3 separate regions of the Homo sapiens genome follow, and all the other regions are linked to region 3. The links are contacts of gene promoters, found by promoter capture Hi-C in blood cells and fetal thymus (Javierre and others, 2016). All regions are on one chromosome and are shown on one strand. Each heading gives the region's core, a stretch centred on a gene start or on the middle of the fragment in contact. The rest is flanking DNA. Distances are from core to core; before and after follow the strand shown. Region 1 overlaps DLX1 (distal-less homeobox 1). Region 2 overlaps METAP1D (methionyl aminopeptidase type 1D, mitochondrial). Region 3 holds the start of HOXD13 (homeobox D13).

The links. Contacts are between HindIII fragments. The CHiCAGO score rates a contact against its expected background, and 5 or more counts as called.
Region 1: a fragment that was not itself captured here is called in contact with the fragment with the promoter of HOXD13 in region 3 in 6 of 17 cell types (total B cells, naive B cells, total CD4 T cells and 3 more); the score reaches 31.5 in total B cells.
Region 2: a contact is called between a fragment that was not itself captured here and the fragment with the promoter of HOXD13 in region 3, in 2 of 17 cell types (naive B cells and total B cells). The highest score is 6.3, in naive B cells.

What each region holds. Positions count from the first base shown.
Region 1 is chr2:172,086,136-172,089,066 of GRCh38, reverse strand. It overlaps DLX1 (distal-less homeobox 1), which reads right to left. Exons shown (of 3, transcript NM_178120.5): 2 at 2,214-2,413; 3 at 1-1,064. The coding sequence ends at 810. Among named protein-coding and RNA genes, the nearest start is that of DLX1, 2.1 kb to the right of the region's middle. RefSeq lists enhancers at 238-849, 1,463-2,074, 2,689-2,931. The HindIII fragment of the contact is 3,945 bases long and covers 1-2,931 here.
Region 2 is chr2:172,069,732-172,072,431 of GRCh38, reverse strand. METAP1D (methionyl aminopeptidase type 1D, mitochondrial) reads right to left here. Exons shown (of 10, transcript NM_199227.3): 6 at 1,362-1,525. Among named protein-coding and RNA genes, the nearest start is that of DLX1, 14 kb to the left of the region's middle. RefSeq lists an enhancer at 1-641. The HindIII fragment of the contact is 1,811 bases long and covers 395-2,205 here.
Region 3 is chr2:176,091,416-176,094,115 of GRCh38, reverse strand. HOXD13 (homeobox D13) reads right to left here and starts at 1,395. Exons shown (of 2, transcript NM_000523.4): 1 at 445-1,395. The coding sequence starts at 1,225. The HindIII fragment of the contact is 2,791 bases long and covers 69-2,700 here.

The DNA.
Region 1 (2,931 bases), core at 365-2,864, 4.0 Mb after region 3:
AAATAATGTCGGACATGTAAAAAATGCAAATCATTCGGCTCCAAACTCTCCATACCAGAGAAGTACAAAAGTTACTGTATAAATTAAAAATCACCACGTCCTCCTTATTCGTTTCTCCCCGTGCGCTTAAAGTAAACAGTGCGTTTGAACAGTGCGTTCCTTGCGCCCAGCAGAACCCTGAATTGGCAAACAGCCTCAGGCGAAGTCCATTTCTCAATAAATAAAACCCCCTCCCTCCAATGCCCCCAGATTCCCACACCAGCTACACAGATGGTCAGGCAGAGTGTCCCAGGATCCGGAGATGGTCAGCCCGGCAGGACCCGGGCCGCTCAGACCTTGTGGCTTTTTGCTGAGGCCGCAGAATGAGGACAGCGGACGGATGAGGACCTGGACTTTACCAGCGCACAGACAGAGCAAAAGGAGACAGGAGACTGACAGGACAGAAAAGAGCTTTTGCTTTTTCTACATTTTGTTTTTGTTTTGTTTTTTCCTGATAGTCCCACAAAGCTGAAGGTCGGCGGGTCGGGTGGAGCGGGTTTATCTTGCTGCTTGGGCTGTCTCAGGTGGCAGTGGCTTCCCTCCGAGGCCACTCTCTGCTGCCACTGCTCGGCCCAGGCCAGGGTTCAGGCTAGAGCGCGGATGCCGGGAAGTTGCTGGGCCGGACCTCGCGGGGCTCCGAGGAGATGGAGGGCGTCCCGCCTCCACTGTTCCTTCTTCCCTCTGGGTCCTTCTTTTCCGGACGGGATGGATGGACCTGGAGGCGGGAGGGACCTGGGCCGGGGAGACAAGAAGGAGACGGGCGGGCAACCTCACATAAGTTGGGGTTGCTGCATAGCTTCTTGGTGCGCTGAAGGGTACCACGATGTGTAGCTGGGGATATAGGAGCCCGCGTTTCCTCCTGAGCCCTTCCCGGATGAAGAGTTAGGGTTCCAGCCGGGCGGCACGGGTGGGGAGCCAGCAGACAGGGCCCGACCGTTGGCCAACGCACTACCCTCCAGAGCCGCCCCACCCTGCTTCATCAGCTTCTTGAACTTGGATCGCTTGTTTTGGAACCAGATCTTGACCTGCAAGAGCGGACAACAACGTGACTCAGGCTGGGACCACTGAGCCTACCTAGGTCACAGGGAGGAAAAAAGGGACCGCAGAACAGCAGAGATAGGACCTCCCAACCCTGCGCCAGCTGGCAGCTCCCTGCCAGAGAAGCAGAGACATCCCTCCTTCCTCCCTTCCCCCATAAGAGCCAAAGGCTCGAAGGCCGAACCTCCCGCCGCCGTCAGCCCACGGGGGCAGCTCTCAGAGAGCCAGGGAGGAGTTGTGATGAGGGGAGAACCGGGATCCAGGCCTTAGCCTGCCAGGGGCTCAGTCCGACCGTGGCTACCGCCTGCGGAAGATACAGCGCCTGCATAACACCGAGCCAGCAATTCCAATATCAACATCAATAAAAAGAATCGAAAACCTAGGAAGGAGTGGAGGAAATTTATTTGCAACGCGACCCAACTTTTCTATGCGCCATCTTTTCTGCCCTTGAGTTGGGACGGACTAAGGAGGCCTCAAGGTTTTGCTGAACTTCTCTTTGGATTCAAAACCATTCTTGCACTAGTGTCTGTTTGCTTTCTCCAGCTCTGCTCCAAATCCCGGACCGGACGTCGGAAACCCGCGCCCGCCGCCGTCAGGAACGCTCACGGGCTCCCCGGAGTCTTACAGAAAGCCGGGAAGGAAGGTCCCGTTTCTTCTCTAAGGTCTGGGACTTGAGAGGTGAGAGGGCGGAGGAAAGGATCTCCCCCCACCCCCAACCGGTAAGAAGGAGGAGGAGGAGGGAGGCTGAGGCGCGGACCCAGGCCCCGAGTGATTAGTCACACAATTTAAAGGCAAAGGAGGGATTAAGCCCGGAGTCTATTGTTCCAGTTGTTTAGGCACGTGTGACCTCTGAGTTCCCAAACAAATCGTCTGGGGAAATCCTTCCTGCGCCCTAATCAGATTGTCCAGGGACAGAGGGCCGGACGGCAGGCAGCTCGGGATACCGAGAGCAGTGACAGAGCTAGGGCAGAGGGAATGAGGGAGGAAGGAGACACGCTGAGAGCCAGGGGTGGACACAAACACATACACACAGTGACACCCCGACCCTGAGTCCCAGCGAGCAACAAATGAAGACCCGGGCGCAGGCCGGCCGCGGAAAGCCTGCGTGGCAGAACGGAGCGGCAGCGGCGAGGTACCTGAGTCTGTGTGAGTCCCAAAGAGGCCGCGAGCTCCGCCCTCTCCGGCAGAGCTAGGTACTGAGTTTGCTGGAACCTCCGGTTCAAAGCCTGCAACTGCAAACTGGAATAAATCGTCCTGGGTTTACGGATCTTTTTTCCCTTGCCATTGAAGCGCACTTCACCGCCTTCCACCACCGTGCTCTTCTCCGAGTCCGCCCCTGGAGGGACAGCAGAAGTAGGGCCCGTTGTTAATACGAGGGGCCGCCTTTAGTGCGAACAGCCGAGAGCGAGTGGCTACCGAAGGGTGGCGGAGGCAGCACCAGGGAGAGAACGTTCAAGAAACTCTGAAAGCCAGGGAAGGGTCCCCCAAAATCCGAGGGCCTGTCCCGGGACGCTGCAGGAGGGATAGAGCCGTTCCCAGGAGCTCAGCTCCTGCCTTTGCAGGGAAAGTTTGCTATTTTTGCAGGCGGTAGTTGAGGTTTAATTACCCTTAATTGCATACATTGTTTATAGCGCTACGCAATAAATAATTACCGAGACTAATACGTGCACATGTGGGTTTCTGTTTTCCAGCGGGGCATTGTGTGCTCTGCACACCGAGCCGCCCAGAGGCCCAGCCAGTGCCAGGAGACGCTCTGGGATTTATCCTTGGCTGGATAGTTGCAAATTGAGGGAATTTTTAAAAAAATTTATTTGCTGTGACAAGGATCTATAGATTGATATTCGAAACCTCCAC
Region 2 (2,700 bases), core at 51-2,550, 4.0 Mb after region 3:
ACATGCCCTTTAGACACAGCCATGAATGCAGAGCTCGATAGAATGCTTGAATAAGAATCTAGTGTTCTCTGCCCCCTTCTACTGAAGAATAAATTTTGTTAAAATGCAAGAGCACCACCAGTAAATTTGTTGAACCCTAGGTGTTCAAAAATATGAGGTGCATCTATCGACTCATCCCATTTGCAAAAATAAAACTGCATTTTGAATTCATTTCTATTATATTCATGGACAGTAAGATAGTGAGATATGCATTAAATTTCTTTTCCCAGTAGGGGTCTGATTCAACATTTCCTATGAAAGAACAGAGAGACACTATCCTTTTTTCCCAGGCTAGTTAGCCTATAATTTAAAACTGTCAAAAACACAATTTTGTTCAAAGTCTTCAATAAAAGCTTCTCAGATATAACCCAAAGAGATTTTACTAAAGTTTGATTCAGACACTGTTACAATATTTTTAAAGCCATAAATACATTTAACTGATATTTTACTGGCTTTTTTCTTAAAGTATTTGAAGGCTTACGAAGAAAAAAAGGCAGCATCTTTTCAAGGTGACTAAGCCTTCCATCCTTTAGACAAATGGGAAGTATTCAATGGTTCATATTAATGAGAACAGTACTTTAAAGGGCACTGATGTGATCATCTTTAACAGAATGCATTACTTTAAAATGAAAACATATATTCGGCATGTCTACTTCAAAACAGTTATGGGGGAAAAAAGACCTAAAAGTAGGTAACAGATTATAAAGAAAAGTCTTAAATTCAGAAAACACACATACACATACATTCAAAAAGTAAGGATAGAATACTCTGTGAAAAATAAACAACGGTTTACAGGAAAAATGAACCAGACAAAAAAAGAACAGAAGATCACCGTTTCAGGCTATTTGTTAATCTACCAATTTGAAAGGTAAGGCTTGCTTGAACTAACACTTTATTATCTTCATATCACAGAAATACATTTCACTTCATTCCTTTATAAAATTTAGTTTTTCTCCTGTCTTATTAAAAACCCCAGGGTTGAGATGCTCATCCCCTTCTTAGGTACTCCCTTCCATATTTGGTGTGATTTTGAATAAAGGGAAACTATAGACCAGTATGTCAAGCTAAAACAAAAGCAGCCATGTAAATATTGCTTGCTCCTTCTATAAGTTTCTTTGCTGACCCTGGTATAATTCATTTTTATAAAATCTTTTTTTTTTTTCAACTCAGGGAACAATATTGCAGCCTGGCAGTTCACATACTGATATCAGACTGAAATGATGGTTCTGAATCATAAAACATGTCATCAACTTTATACCAAGCCACCAATAACCTTTGTACCATTTGCCAACCCTCCCTTTACTTGTCAATGTAAGGCTTACCTGATTGTGTTTCCAATTACAGAGAAGGGAGCCCCTGCTCTGCAAGCTGCAATTGCTTCATCTCTACACCTCCTGGCAACCTCCACTAACTTTTTACCACATTCGTCCACATTGCCCACCAAAAATGTTTCAGAGGTGTCTCCATGGTAGCCATTGTAATAGACCTAAACATAAGCAGAAATTTAAAAATATGTCCTTGTTTAAAAATCTACTTTCCTAAAGTATACATTGTATTCATTTATGTATTTAGTAGACTCATGTTTTACCCTTCCAGAATTATTCATTTGCCTATCAAAAAAAGAAGAAATAGATATATTGAAACCTTGCAGAAATTTAAAAGATGAAGCCATGCAATGATATTGCAAAATTTAAAAACAACTATGTTAACTAGTATGGTTATTTCAGCATTATGATGAACAATACTACTGTAATATTTTGATTCCTCACTTTATTTCTGAGAAGACAAAATTATATAAGCAAAAATTAGTAGCCAAAGACCTTGATCTACAATTACCACAACAGGTTTAGAGAACCAAAAAGTATTTAACATAGTGAAAAGTTTCTTCAATGTCATGAAGACTTACTTGATTTTGTATTTACCAGTTCTACATTTGAAGTGATATATAATGACAAGAAGAAGTAAGATAGACATGTCTGTATTCTAACAAACAAATAGGAGAATTCAGTTCTAAGAATTGAAGTGGTTCCATATAGGAATGAAATGTGTTACAGAAAAATCCTATGTCTAGAAGTGAAATCTTAATCAAATGTTCCAGACAGCCGAACGTTAACAGAAAGCACTATATATGGATATCTAAAGAATTAGAATATAATAAAACAAGCTTAAAAGCACAATTACAGAAAGTATAATTTTATCAGTCTTCAGTGATTCAGAAGCCAAGTAGGATCTTGAAAGATACCAGATTCATTATAAATCATTGATAACCAAGCACTATAGTAAATATAAAAGGCAGAGGCAACTGTTTGGATACTGATCCTTTGATGTAGCATGGAATTTGCTACTTTGCATAAATTTGTCCTATCTAATTATTTTTCACATTTCTCTTGCTCATAAGGTAGAATGTAGAAACTGTTATAAAAAAGATGTTTATATGAGCTTTCAGTCTGTTGTGATACTGAATTAATGTCTTAAATCTGTATACTACTCTGCATTTCTTAAAAAATGCTCTCATATTCTGTGAAGGAAGCAAGAAAGGTCTTTATTAGATCTTCAGTTTATAATTCAGGAAACTGAGGCACAGATAAGTAACTTGTTTAAGGTTGGTGGCAGAATATAGAGGTAGATTCAGGTTAATATGATGGATTATTGGCTTCTAAT
Region 3 (2,700 bases), core at 146-2,645:
GTCTTTTGCTCAAATTTTGATTTCCCGCGTTCCTATGTTAGGAGTTCGTGAGCTTGATCTAACAAGCTTTAGTAGTCATCTTGGGGCAGTGATGTCTTTGAAAATGGGGGGACCCAACTCTGTCAGGTTTCTTAGGAAAAAGTTCTCTTTAGGAGAAAAGGGAGAGGCCCAAGGAAAGGGCACGCAGAGACTCTCAACTTTAGGAGAAAAACGTGTCTGCGCTGCACACAGGAAAGAAAGGGCAGTGACGGAGGCAGTTGAAATCAGAGGAGGAATTTACAGATTTCACACGAACTGGACAAATTTCCACTGGGTTAACCCTGGTCACGTGTGGAGCACAGGCACAACTCCCACTCCCAAGTAGGGGCGCATACTCTTAGTCCTTTCTTTTCTCCTTCTCTCTCCCCCTCCCTCGTGTCGGTCCCTTTTCTCCATCGCCCCTACCTGGAAAGGAAGATTTCCAAAAGTGGGACCCCTGTGGCTGGTCCTTGGTGCAGTACACCTGGCTGTTCCACCCGTTAGCCAGCGTCCAGGACTGGTACCCCTCCATGGAGATGTAGGCCTCGTGCCGAGGCTCCCCGGAGCCGAAAGTGGACACCATGTCGATATAGCCGGGCACGTGCTGGTAAGGGCTCGTATAGCCCTGGTAGAAGGATACCTCCTTGGCTCGCGCTGGCACCTCGTTGGCCGGTACGCTGCTGCTCGCCAGGCCTGACACGTCCATGTACTTCTCCACGGGAAAGCCTCCCAGCGAGGCGTGCGGCGATGACTTGAGCGCATTCTGCTGTAAGCCCACGCCGTGCGACATACGGCAGCTGTAGTAGCCGTTGCCGAAGTGGTAGCCGTAGCCCAGCGCTGGAGCGCTCGGGGGCGCTGCAGCGGCCGCTGCAGGCGTGGGTGCTGGGCACTCTTTGGCTGGGGGAGCCTCCGGGCGCGCCGCTACAACGGCAGAAGAGGACGACGACGAGGAAGAGCCCGTGCGCTCAGAGGTCCCGGGGTACGCAAAGCCGGAGGCTGCCGCCGCCGCCGCCGCAGCCGCCGCTGCCGCCGCCGCCGCCCGCCCCGAATGCGTCCCGGCGAACACAGGCGCGGAGAGAAAGCCGCGGCACTGGCCTGACGCCGCCGCCGCCGCCACCGATGAGGAGGAGGAAGAGGCCGGGGCGCCACCGGCGCCCCCGCCGTCTGCCCGCAGCCCGTCCATGTCCCAGCTCCCGGCGCGGCTCATGGCCCGGCCTGGCCCGGCCCCGGCCCTGGCCCTGGCCCCGCGCAGGACACCATGGCGCGGCGCGCCTCCTCCCTCCTCTCCTTTCTCTCTGGTTCGCTCGCTCCCGCCCTCTTCCTCTAGCCCTCTCTCCCTCTGTGAGCCTCCCGCCTCCGGCCCGCCTGCCCTCCAACAGGTTAGCTCATCGCGGGACGTTTATAAAAACGAAGTTCAGGTTGGGAGGGGGCCTGGGCCGGTCGGGGGGCCGCCTCCCGCCCCGAGGGCCCCCGCCGGGGGCGTGCCATTGGCTGCGCGCGGCCACGTGGGGGTAGGAACGCGGGGGAGCCTGGCTCCCGGCCCAGGCCTGGCTGGACCCACCCACTCCGGCCCCCACCCCTCTCCTGCCCCTTGCAGGGTCCACCTCCCATTCCCGCCCTCCCCCCCGACCCAGGCGTACGCGCTGCAGCCACCCCCACGAGTTGATTGCGCGACGGCCCATCCCAGGCCCTGTCTGCGACTGAGGCGGGCGCCAAGGCCTGCGCCTTGTCTCGGCAACCGCTGTTTTTGCCACCTCTCCTCGGCTCCCCGAGTTGCACAGCAAAATGAAGACGAAGGACAGAGATGATCAGAATGATGTGAAAACAGGCCCATTTTTTTATCCTGTTGCTGAATCCCTCAGTTAGTCGACTTCTAGACCCCAAATCCGAGTGAGCTAATTTGCCCTACCTTGTGCACTGGTACCCGGCAAAGGCATTTCACACAGGTAAGAGGCATTGGAGCAGACCCTTCCTATACACACACGCTGTCCGTTCGGAAAATGCCCATGAAGCGCCCTTGGGGCTGGCGGCAGAGACTTAAACAGATGAAAGACAGGCATCGGCGCAGTGAGCCTGACAATCTGTCCCAGAAAGAAAAGTCCATGGATGCCTACTCAACGCTCTTCGCCTCTACTCTTGGGCCAGCCGGGAGTGCTTCCGACCTGGGCCTCTCAGCTCCCGCGGGTCCTTCTTCGACCCGCAGAAAGACCCTGAGAACGGCGCCGGGGGAGAAAGCCACTCAGCCTCCCACCGTGAAACTTCTGTGTCTCTCCAGCAGCCGACCGGCCTCGCATTTTGCAGTCACCACCCACTCCCGCCCGTTTCTCACACCAAATTAATTGAAAACTTCACTTTCCCAGGGACCTTTGTTTCGCTTCCTTTTCCAAGCTGTCAACTGCAGAGAACTGAGAGGGGCAAATTAAGAGGGCGCTTGTTCCAAGCAAATTCGGATTTTGTGATAGGAGCAGCCCAGAGAAACGGTCTGACTTCAAGGGGTTAGGTGGGCTCAGGGCAGTGCTGGTGGGGCTAGGTCCAGCTCTGGAACCAAGCTGCCAGGGTGTTAGGGATTACAGCCCTGTCCCTCATCATCCCTTTCTGTTGCTCCTCAGCCTCAGAGCTCCAGCCCACCATCCCTCAATCTCAGCAACTAATGGGGCACCAATGAGAGTCCTGCTGTGACTT